Regions from separate parts of the Homo sapiens genome. Here all the other regions are linked to region 3. The links are contacts of gene promoters, found by promoter capture Hi-C in blood cells and fetal thymus (Javierre and others, 2016). All regions are on one chromosome and are shown on one strand. The core of a region is centred on a gene start or on the middle of the fragment in contact, and the rest is flanking DNA. Distances in the headings are between cores, read along the strand shown. Region 1 holds the start of PPP1R37 (protein phosphatase 1 regulatory subunit 37). Region 2 holds the start of NKPD1 (NTPase KAP family P-loop domain containing 1). Region 3 holds the start of CKM (creatine kinase, M-type).

The links. The method cuts DNA at HindIII sites, captures the fragments that hold promoters and counts their contacts. A CHiCAGO score of 5 or more calls a contact.
Region 1: a contact is called between the fragment with the promoter of PPP1R37 here and the fragment with the promoter of CKM in region 3, in 5 of 17 cell types (M1 macrophages, endothelial precursors, megakaryocytes and 2 more). The highest score is 8.4, in M1 macrophages.
Region 2: the fragment with the promoter of NKPD1 here is called in contact with the fragment with the promoter of CKM in region 3 in 2 of 17 cell types (erythroblasts and M1 macrophages); the score reaches 6.2 in erythroblasts.

Annotation. Positions count from the first base shown.
Region 1 is chr19:45,091,616-45,095,517 of GRCh38, reverse strand. PPP1R37 (protein phosphatase 1 regulatory subunit 37) reads right to left here and starts at 2,339. Exons shown (of 13, transcript NM_019121.2): 1 at 1,991-2,339. The coding sequence starts at 2,192. RefSeq lists silencers at 2,057-2,266, 3,784-3,902 and enhancers at 2,687-2,736, 3,737-3,902. The HindIII fragment of the contact is 14,988 bases long and covers 1-3,902 here.
Region 2 is chr19:45,159,648-45,163,591 of GRCh38, reverse strand. NKPD1 (NTPase KAP family P-loop domain containing 1) reads left to right here and starts at 2,610. Exons shown (of 5, transcript NM_198478.4): 1 at 2,610-2,667; 2 at 3,371-3,532. The coding sequence starts at 3,442. It overlaps TRAPPC6A (trafficking protein particle complex subunit 6A), which reads left to right. Exons shown (of 6, transcript NM_001270891.2): 6 at 369-659. The coding sequence ends at 400. RefSeq lists an enhancer at 2,328-2,960. The HindIII fragment of the contact is 37,147 bases long and covers 1-3,944 here.
Region 3 is chr19:45,320,689-45,324,273 of GRCh38, reverse strand. CKM (creatine kinase, M-type) reads left to right here and starts at 1,399. Exons shown (of 8, transcript NM_001824.5): 1 at 1,399-1,453. RefSeq lists an enhancer at 433-675. The HindIII fragment of the contact is 13,711 bases long and covers 1-3,585 here.

The DNA.
Region 1 (3,902 bases), core at 1,090-3,589, 230 kb after region 3:
GTGCTGGGGTTGCAGGCATGAACCATGGCGTCCGGCCCAAAAGTCTTAATTTAACCACTGCCTCTTTAAGAATAACTAGCCAGCCGGGCACGGTGGCTCATGCCGGTAATCCCAGCACTTTGGAAGGCTTAAGTGGGCAGATCACCTGAGGTCGGGAGTTCGAGACCAGCCTGGCCAACATGGTGAAACCCCCAACTCTACTAAAAATACAAACATTTTTAGCCAGGTGTGATGACAGGTGCCTGTAATCCCAGATACTGAGGAGGCTGAGGCAGGAGAATTGGCCTGGGCGACAGAGGGAGACTCCGTCTAAAAAATTATAATAAGTAGCCAAACTGTCATTCATGATGGACTCCCTGTGTGTTCAGTTTCCAGTTACCATGTTTCCCACCCTCACATCAAAGCCACCAATTCCTCCATTGTCCACAGACTGGCAATAGTTTCTCCCCTTGCCCAGGGCCGGCAGATCAGCTTCTACAGAACCACGGCCACCACAGCCAGTCTGATCCCTCACTTCATGGGCTCCACCCCAGGAGAACTGACAGACTTCTCCAGCACAAAATGGACTCAACACTGCCCTGCATGTCCCAAGCGACTTTCCACTTTCCCAGCCCTATGGCTCCAACACACTCCTTTCAGCTCCAACACTGACCTGACCCTCTCCAGTGCGCTGGCCCTCTCTCCCAACACTTCAAGTAGCCAACTTTTTCATCTCTCTCACCTGCTACTGGCCAGCAACTCCAATTTCTGACTTGATAACATCCCCCAATTCTTTTTTTTTTTTTCTTTGAGCCGGAGTTTTGCTCTTGTCACCCAGGCTGGAGTACAATGTCGTGATCTTAGCTCACTGCAACCTCCACCTCCCGGGTTCAAACGATTCTCCCTGCCTCAGCCTCTTGAGTAGATGGGATTACAGGTGTGCACCACTATGCCCGGCCAATTTCTGTATTTTTAGTAGAGACGGGGTTTCCCCATGTTGGCCAGGCTGGTTTTAAACTCCTGACCTCAGGTGATCCACCCACCTTGGCCTCCCAAAGTGCTGGGATTACACGCCTGAGCCAATGCACCCGGCCATCCCCCAATTCTTTCTCAGGAAGGAACAAGAGGACCCTTCCGTAGCCATGTCCCAAACATCCTCTGCTCCTGAATGACTGACAGCCTTCCTTCTGCTTCTCTTTTTTTTGGAGGAGGAGGCGGCGGTAGGCGTTGGCTTTTCTTCTTAATACCACATTGCAGCAGGCGGCGGTGGCTCACACCTGTAATCCCAACACTCTGGGAGGCCAAGGAGGGAGGACAGCTTGAACCCAGAAGTCCGAGACCAGCCTGGGCAATGTAGTGAGACCTTGTCTCAATAAAAAAGAAAACATAAAAACCACACTGCCTCTTTCTCCCTCACCCAACCACAAATTGACCACCACCTCTGCTCCTCTTCTGGGACCTTATCTTGACTCCTTTTTACCAAGTCCTCTATAGCCACAGTCCAAGTTTATAGTCTCCCTCTTTCCAGCCAAGAAAGTGGCCAACACGACCACTCCTTGCCCCAAGGCTTGCAGACCAGCAACTTAACCTCTTTTTACCCCCATAGACCCATCAAACTCTTTCAACTGCCCTTTCAGGCCCAGTGTTGACCCGCTCCTCCTCTCAACTGCTCCTTCTCTCCTTCTCTGGTGGAACTACGAACGCAAAGGCTGCCACACTCTACATCTGACAAAACACCAAACTTTCTTTAATTGCTCATCGTTTTAAACCCTAAAACGATCACCATCTTTGTCTCGGGTGGGTGGGGTGCGGCAGAAACCAGATACTTTTCACCTTCCCAACTCCATAGCCACCCCCTTTCTAACAGACTACGGTTCTAAACTGACGACTGTCCCCTTATTCACCATTAGGTGCAATCTATTGAACGCCACCTCGAGCCGGGCCCTGCACCGATCCCTCCCGACTCCCGGGTCCCTCTCGAGCCCGCCCCCGCTTCACCCGCGGTAGCTACCATGTCTCCAGGGGTCTTTGGGCTCCACTGCTCCAGACACGATATCCTCGTCGGACGGGAATGTGACGCGCTTGGCTGCAGCCTTGAGGCGCCCATCGGCGGGGGGCGACGCGGGGCTGGGAGACCCGGCCTCAGCTGGGGCCTCTTCAATGTCGCCGTCCGCGCCCGGCACGGGCGGCGCCTCCTGCGGCGCGATCTCCATAGCCGCCGCCGCCTCCTCACGGGGGCCCCGGGGACATGCCCCGGGCCCCGGATTTGTCTCTCCGGGTCCGCCCGCCGTCCCGGGGCATGGGCTCCGCCGCCGCTTCAGGCGCCGCCTCCGTCCGCTCTCCTAGTGGTCGTAGTCGTCGCCGCCGGGAGCCCAAGCGCGCCTCCGCCGAGCCCCGCGCGCGCCTGCCCGTTCGCAGTCACACTTTCGCTCGAGGCTGGCGAGCCCGCCGCTTACTATAAGAAGCAGAAAATCGATTTCAGCGACTTGCACGTAGAGTTGTCCCGCGGGTGACATGAAGAGAGAAACAAAGGGCAGGAAGGGCCACGGAAAAAAGAAACGTGAGCAGCGAATCTGCAGAGCCGGAACTGCAGACTATGAGGGGCGGGGCGAAGTAGACGCCGTCTCCAAGAGCAGCGCGCAAGCGCGAAGCTGAGCCCACGCCTTCCTGCCGGAGTCCAAATAACGAATATTCAGCTCCCGCACATTCGTCAAGAGCCCAGGGAATGGAGTGCATAGAACTGAAAACACCTGGCGGGGCGCGGCGGCACACGCCTATAATCCCAGCACTTTGGAAGGCTGAGGCGGGAAGATCGCTTGAGTCCAGGAGTTCGAGACCAGCCTGGGCAACATAGCAAGGCCCCGTCTTTACAAAAAATTTAAAAATTAGCAGGGTCTGGTTACAGGAGCCTGTAGTTCCAGCTACTTGGGAGGTGGGAAGATCGCTTGAGCCCGGTAGGTTGAGGCTGCACTGAGCTATGATCGCGCCCCTGCACTCCGACCTGGTAGACAGAGCCAGACCCTGTCTCAACGAAAGGAAAGAAATGGGCCGGGCGCGGTGGCTCACGCCTGTAATCCCAGCACTTTGGAAGGCCGACACGGGCGGATCACGAGGTTAGGAGATCGAGACCATCCTGGCTAACACGGTGAAACCCCGTCTCTACTAAAAATACAAAAAATTAGCCGGGCGTGGTGGCGGGCGCCTGTAGTCCCAGCTACTCGGGAGCCTGAGGCACGAGAATGGTGTGAACCCGGGAGGCGGAGCTTTTAGTGAGCCGAGATCGTGCCACTGCACTCCAGCCTGGGCGACAGAGCAAGACTCCGTTCCCCCCCCCCCAAAAAAAACAAAGGAAATAAATGAAAACATTGAGGCTAGACTAACTGATGAAGAGTGGTAACGGCATGAAGAAGTCGAAAAGAAAGGCGGATAGGAGCTGCATTCAATATATGAGTGCAGTTGATGGATGCTGACAGGGATACTCTGGAGACGAAGTCTCGGCCCCTTCGCTAGTCTCTAGTCCTCCATTTGCTCGCTGCAGTTACATCAACAGCTCTCTGTATCGGGGTAGAGTTGCATAAAATACAACTTAAATTACAATGCTAAAATAAATATGAGCCCATGAGCGGTATCATAGGCCTGATTTTAAAAAACAAAACCTAGGAGAAGGTAGAAATTCCAAAGGCGAGAGACGAATCTGCCAACCTAAATCCTGGGTGACAAGGCTGGTGGATCACCGAGGCAAGAAAGAACCAGCGTGAGCTCAAGCCACACCCCTAGGCTCAGACCCAACGCTTGACATTCGCCGCCGCACTTTCGCCACGCTTGCCGAAGCGCACCCGGCTAACTAGAGGAGGCGGGGCTGAAACCATAAAAGGGAACTGGGGCGGAGCGAGCTGCGTCGTCGCCAAGGCAACTCGAGAGCT
Region 2 (3,944 bases), core at 1,361-3,860, 160 kb after region 3:
TCAGACAAGCTGGAGCCCCATTCCTGCCTGGGGACAGCCTGCCCCACCACCTCCCCCACCTTCAGTTATTTTGCCTCTGCCGGTTCCCCAGGCCCACTCATGGGGGCCCCCGGGGCCCCCGTGGGGTAGGACCGAGCAATGCATACCACAGAAGCCCGTGCCGGGCGCTTCCCTGGGGCCACATCCGTGGCCCTCATGCTCCTGGTTACTCACACAGCTCAGGGATGCGGCCCCGTGGGCGGGAGGAAACAGCCCAACCTAGCCACTGGGGTGTCAGTGCAGGACGGGGGTGAGCGCCTAAGAGCCGTCCAGGTGCCCTCTGCCTCCCCCATCCCATCCTCAAGCCTAAGCCAGGCCTTCTCTTCCAGGTAAGTTCCAGGTGGTGATTCCGAAATCCTAAGCCTGCCTCGCACCTGCTGAGCCGCACTGCTGCCCCTGGCCTCACCGGCCTCAGGAGACGGTGGGGCCGCTGCATTTCGGGGTGGTCTTGGGAATCCCAGGCCCTAGGGGTCACATTTGCTCAGGAAGTGGGTATCAAATTGAGGTGGGGGTGTCAGAGGAGGCAAAGGGGTCCCAGCTGCGGTCAGGACTGTGGTGGGATTCCCGCCTCGGCAGCGTCACTGCCCAGTAGCTGCTCAATAAAGGCTGTGTGTGTGGAATCTGACTCAGAGCAGTGGGGGAGGATCTGTGGACCGACTGTCACAGGTCCTGCAGGGGAGTGGGTACCCTCTCTGGCTCCCATGCCCCTCAGACCTTCCCTCCCCTGCCACGTCCCCCTCCACTCCCTCCCTCCCCGTGCTCCTGGCAGAGGGATGCTGGCCTCCGGCATGGGCGGCCTTACTGGCACCTCTGCCAAGTCAACAAGTCTGGGGCTGCCCTCTGCCCGGCGATGTGCACAGAACGGAGCGTCTTCCTGGGGAGCAGGGCTGGGAGTGCCCGGAGTGTAGGCCAGGTCGGGCTGGGGCTGCCAGGGCTGGGGATGCATGGGGTAGGGGGAGGCCAGACACCCCCATGGACACACGCGGCCCCTACGCACTCCTGCTGCCCGTCCCTGGGCAGAGTGGCCCTTATGCTGCCCCCTCCCACCCCGCTCGCATCTGTAGCATCTGGGGACTCCTGGGCTTCGCCGCCCGCTGCCTGACATGGGTAAGTGCCCCAGGCTCAGAGCTGCCCACCAAGGCTGGGGGTGAACCCCAAATGGGATGAGAAAGGGGCCCCTTGCTAAAGAACCTCCCCTGTAGAGTGGGGTCCAGTCACCCCGTCAGGCCCTGCCTGGGTCACCCCTTCCTATTCCACCTGGCTGAGTGTAGCTGTGTCCTGTGTCTGCCTCTGCAGTGCTGCCCGCCTGGCCCACTCCCCAAACGCCTGCTCCCCCTAGTGTCCAGCAGCCTCCTGGCCACTGTGCTCCCAGCCCGGGGCAATCTCGTCCTGCGGAGACGGCTCATTTACATTGGGCCACGCTTCATGATCGGGCCGGGGGTGTGGGGGGTTGGCACGGAGGCCCACTGCAGATGCCCACGCTCAGATGCCAGCCCCGCCTCCCTGGTGGGCCAGGGAGGAACCTTCCCAGAGCAACCGGCTTGAAGGGTGGGGGAGGAGACGGGGTCCCAGGTCGCAGGAAGGGCCCTGGCTCTGGCCGTAGGGAGCAGTGTTTGGTCACCTGGGCAGAACTCAGGGCTGGGTGGGTTCCCTTTATCTTGTCCTGGGCACTGTTCTGGGGCTGCCTCCCCCATCCCCATCGGAGCACCCCGTCTGTCAGGGAAGCAACTGTTGACCCCGTTACGCCAGCAGCCACAGGGAGCCGGGGCCCCAGAGAGCCGAGGGGCCTTCAGGGCATCTCCTGCCCAGCCTTACCCCGGCCCTCACCCCTCAGAGGGCATCTGTGGGGAGGCAGTCACTGAGTGCTGGCCCCGAGGGCAGGAGACAGAGCCTTGGCGAGCCTGGGAGTAGCAACCACTGACTGCTTCCAAATCCCCGCCCTGCCTCTGTGTGCCCTGGGGCCGAGGACTTCACTTCTCTGGGCCTCAGTGTCCTCATCTGTGAAGCGGGCATCACACCTGGCCCCCTGGGTGGTGGAGAGGAAGACGGGGCTATGGTGTAGCAAGCCTTGATGTGTGTGCTGTTGCCCTTGTCCTATGGACATCCATTTAGAACAGCGCCAGGTAAATGGGTCAGCACAGCCCCGGGTCAGGTGCGCCAGGCCCTGAGCTGAGGGGACTCCCACCCAGTGCCTCCCTCGCGACAGCCACGAGAGGCAGGTGCCCACTCAGCAATGAGGAAGCCATGGCTCGGAGAGTGAAGTCACCTGCCCAAGGTCACATACCTGGGCCACGGAGGAGCTGGCATCCCAGCTCCCTGTCCCCCCCACACCAGCAGAAGTGCCTGGGCCTGTGGCTGCCTTAAGGAGATTGAGGCAGTGCTGCGGGATGCATCTCCGTTCCTTACCAGGGATGGGGACACAAGACTGAGTCCAGTCGGAGTCCCAGTCCTCGAGAGCAGAGAGCACTGGGACAGGCAGGCGCTGGGGAAGGGGCGGGGACAGGCAGGCAAACCGGTCAGGCGGGCACTGGGCTGAGGCCTCCATCTGGATGGGCCTGCGCTGACAGTCCGGGCTGGTGTGGCAGCTGCTCGTGGGGCAGGCAGCTGGGGCCGTGAGGCCACCGTCAGGTACGAGTGGGACTGGGACTGGGGGTGGGGAGTGGTGGGCAGGCTACCAACTCTCAGCACCCCAGTTTCCTCTGCCCCTCAGCCTTTCCCTATCCCTGTCCCCCACACAGCATCCTTCCCTGTCCTGCTTTCGGCTCTTCACATTGGAAACGCGGTACACCCATCTTGCCCGAGTTTGCTGAGCCTCTCCCCAAATTGGACCACCGCGATTTCATTGCTCCCTCACAATTCCCCCTCCACCGTATCATTCAATGCCCACAGGTACCCAGCTCTGATTTTCACTCACCCTGCTTCTCATCTGCTCTCCAGCTCACCTCACTAGCTCCATGTCCTTCCAAAGCGTGCCAGCCTCCCACAGCGCCCACACCTTAATGACCCCTTGGTCACTCAGCCACCACACCGGACCCCCTATTTCCCCAGCCCATGTCTGCTCAGCACTCCCCAGTGTCCTAGCCTCTTGGAAACTCCCAGGAGCTTCCCAACACCCAGCCTCAAATTAACCCCTAGCCAACCCCAGCGGTTCTCCGTTCCCTCCTCTGGCCATCCCTCCTTATCCTGCCCCTCACTGTACCCTGAAGGCCACCTCTACCCCCTTCTCCCAAGTGACCTAGGAACCCAGCATCTGGGACTTGGCCTTTCCCCTGTCCAAGCTGTCGGGCAGGGCAGGGACCCTGACCTCAGCTCTCTGCTGTTCGTGCCCCAGAGGCTACGCCAAGCCTGTGTGCTCCCTCCTGCCTCAGGAGCAGGCCCCCAGCACCCAGCTGCCCGGCTGCCATGCACAAACATTACAAAGTCCACTTCGCCAAGGATGCCCAGAGCCCCAACGGGCACTACTTCTGGGACCCAGAGTTGGGGCACCGAAAAGGTACGGGTTCAGTTTGGGGGCGGGTGATGGCCGACAGAGGCCTGTGAGGAAGCCAGAGTGAATGGAGGAACAGAAGGGGAGCTGTCATCCCCAGGAGAGAAAAGCCACTTGCACTCCACCCAGAGGCATCTGTGTAGCAGCAGGGCCTGGGACCCAGGACCCGGACCACAGGGCCTGCGGGCCCAAAGATAGGAGCCTGGGCTGGAGTTGGAAGCAGGGGCCGCCTGGCCTGCCCTGCCCCGTTTCCAAACCCTGAGGCCTGTGTGGATGGCCTCCAGCCTGGAGGGGAGCAGTGTGCTGGGAGTGAGGGGTAGGAGAGGGAGCCCCCCCACTGAACATGTCTGGATGAGGCTGGGCCCAGTTTCTGGTGGTGACCACAGGTGATCTTGTTCAGGGTGGGGAGGGGGCAGTG
Region 3 (3,585 bases), core at 150-2,649:
AAGGAGACCCTCGGCAATCTGAGCTTGCTGGGAAAGGGCTGGGCCCCATGTAAATATTTCTAAAGCACCCCTCTCCCCTCCCCCCTCAGATCAGGAGTCTGAGGGAGAGGCACAGAGGCTCCCTTTCTCTAAGCCAGTCCTCACCTGCCTAAGAAGATGTGAAGGAGACCCAGGAGACCCTGGGATAGGGAGGAACTCAGAGGGAAGGGACATTCTTTTCTTCGTCGCAATCCTGGGAGCTCCCTGGAGGAGGAGACCCGATCAGCCTGCAATCCTGGCGCGTCCCAGGAGGAGAAAGCGGCTTCCTCTATACTGTACTCTCCTCCACAGAACCCCCCTCTCAGCCCTGGAAGTCCTTGCTCACAGCCGAGGCGCCGAGAGCGCTTGCTCTGCCCAGATCTGCGCGAGTCTGGCGCCCGCGCTCTGAACGGCGTCGCTGCCCAGCCCCCTTCCCCGGGAGGTGGGAGCGGCCACCCAGGGCCCCGTGGCTGCCCTTGTAAGGAGGCGAGGCCCGAGGACACCCGAGACGCCCGGTTATAATTAACCAGGACACGTGGCGAACCCCCCTCCAACACCTGCCCCCGAACCCCCCCATACCCAGCGCCTCGGGTCTCGGCCTTTGCGGCAGAGGAGACAGCAAAGCGCCCTCTAAAAATAACTCCTTTCCCGGCGACCGAGACCCTCCCTGTCCCCCGCACAGCGGAAATCTCCCAGTGGCACCGAGGGGGCGAGGGTTAAGTGGGGGGGAGGGTGACCACCGCCTCCCACCCTTGCCCTGAGTTTGAATCTCTCCAACTCAGCCAGCCTCAGTTTCCCCTCCACTCAGTCCCTAGGAGGAAGGGGCGCCCAAGCGCGGGTTTCTGGGGTTAGACTGCCCTCCATTGCAATTGGTCCTTCTCCCGGCCTCTGCTTCCTCCAGCTCACAGGGTATCTGCTCCTCCTGGAGCCACACCTTGGTTCCCCGAGGTGCCGCTGGGACTCGGGTAGGGGTGAGGGCCCAGGGGGCACAGGGGGAGCCGAGGGCCACAGGAAGGGCTGGTGGCTGAAGGAGACTCAGGGGCCAGGGGACGGTGGCTTCTACGTGCTTGGGACGTTCCCAGCCACCGTCCCATGTTCCCGGCGGGGGGCCAGCTGTCCCCACCGCCAGCCCAACTCAGCACTTGGTCAGGGTATCAGCTTGGTGGGGGGGCGTGAGCCCAGCCCCTGGGGCGGCTCAGCCCATACAAGGCCATGGGGCTGGGCGCAAAGCATGCCTGGGTTCAGGGTGGGTATGGTGCGGGAGCAGGGAGGTGAGAGGCTCAGCTGCCCTCCAGAACTCCTCCCTGGGGACAACCCCTCCCAGCCAATAGCACAGCCTAGGTCCCCCTATATAAGGCCACGGCTGCTGGCCCTTCCTTTGGGTCAGTGTCACCTCCAGGATACAGACAGCCCCCCTTCAGCCCAGCCCAGCCAGGTACTGCACGGGGCGGGAATCTGGGTGGGGGCCAGAGTAGGGGATTTCTGTGGGTGCTAGAGGCTTGGCTTGGGAAAGGGTCTGTGTGTCACCCCTTGCTCCACCAACATCCTCCTATACAAAGGCAGGTCGGTGCGTGGGAAGGTTGACCCTTGTGTGTCTGGGAGGCCCCTCCATCTGTGAGGCTGCCTGAACCCCCCACTGGGACCTGTGATTTCTGCGGCACAAGTCTTGGGTTATGGGGAGGGATCCGAGATGAAAGGGGTCCTGACAGCTGCCAACTGTCACCCCCTGCAAGGGGCTGTTGAGCCAGGCCTGTGTTCATTACAGTTTGTCGCCAACACTGGCGCCACAAGCCGTGGGAGGTGTGTCTGTCGCCTAGCAGAGTCTGCAAGAGCAGGTGTCGCAGGCTTTCTTTGCGTTTGCTACTGTGTGGGTCCCTGTGACCTTGTTTCTGACTTAGTAGCGGACACATGAGTGTCCTGGGCATGTCCTTGAGTTTGGAAGTGTGACTGTGTGACTTAGTTTACAGTGTGATCTGGGGAGTCTGCGGTGGTGGGGGTGTGTGGCTCTGGGGCTTTCTGCTTATGTCTCTTGTGGGGGGGGTCACCACCCTGCCTCAGTGCCCTCTCCTGGGGTGTCCCTGGCAGGGATTAGGGGGGCATCCTCTGAAGGGAGGGGGTCTGGGCTGCCATCCCAGGATGTCCTTGAGCCCCGAGGCCTGGACCCGTGTCCTCCCAGCCACCCTGGCCCACCTGTCTTGGGCCTGCTGACTTGGTGCAAGCCGAGCCCCGGAATGTGGGGGTGGGGCGGGGCAGCAGCTGGGGGTGGGATGGCAGGCAGTTGCCAGATTCTAAAAATAACCACCCTGGACAGCAGCACCCAAGGTCTTTGGCGGGTCCCTGTTCCTCTTCCCTGGCTTCAGCTCACCGTGGTCCCAATCTCCCTCCCACAATCCCACCTGCTTCCCATCCCCGTCTCCCACCGCTGCTGGAGGCCCCTTCTCCTTTCTGGGTCCCTTCTCCTTTCTGGGTCCAGTGAATAAAATAATAATAACAGTAGGACCTGGCGCAGTGGCTCACACGCATAATCCCAGCATCTTGGGAGGCCGATGCTGGAGGATCACTTGAGGCCAGGAGTCCCAGACCAGCCTGGGCAACATAGTGAGACCCCATCTCTGCAAAAAAGTAGTAATAACAAATAACAATAATAGCAGCCACCAGGGTTCCAGGCTCCAACTCCATGCCAGGGCCTGTGCTCAGCCAACCTCATGGCCAAGCTCAGAGGATCCTGGCAATCCTACGGGGCAGGCTCAGTTCACAGGAGACAGAGGTCCAGAGAGGCCTAGTGACTGGCCTGGGGTCACACAGCAGGGAAATGGCATAGGTGGGATTTGAACCTGCCTCTGACGACCCAGAGGCTGAGCTTTTCTTCCCTTCTGAGCCCTGTGGGAGAACTGTCAGCAGGCAGAGGTGGGGGCAGCTACCCAGCCCTCCCCCGACCCAGCCCTTTGTCTTTGGATTGATAATCCAAGAACCTGCTCACATACTCCCAGCAGCACCCTCACCTCCACCTTCTCACCAGCTCCTCGCACGAACCTTTAAAATAACAACAACAGGCCAGGTGCCGTGACTCATGCCTGTAATCTCAGCACTTTGGGAGGCAGAGGTGGGCGGATCACTTGAGTTCAGGAGTTCAAGACCAGCCTGGCCAACATGGCGAAACCCCAACTCTACTAAAAATACCAAAAAAAAAAATAGCCAGGTGTGGCACACGCCTGTAGTTGCAGCTACTCAGGAGGCTGAAGCAGGATAGTTGCTTGAACCTGGGAGGTGGAGGTTGCAGTGAACTGAGATTATGCCACTGCACTCTAGCCTGGGCGACAGAGCGAGACTCTGTCTCAAACATAATAATAATAATAATAATAATAGCAGCTAAGTGAAATAATGCTTATTGTGTACCAGGCACTGTTCCGAGAGCTACACCTGTATTCACACATTTAATCTTTTCAACACTCCCATGCGGCAAGTGCTGTTAGGATCCTCATTTTCTAGATGAGTAAATTGAGGCACAGAGGTTAAGCAACTTGCCCCTGGCCACACAGCTGGTTGTAGGTAGCAGAGCTGGGAATC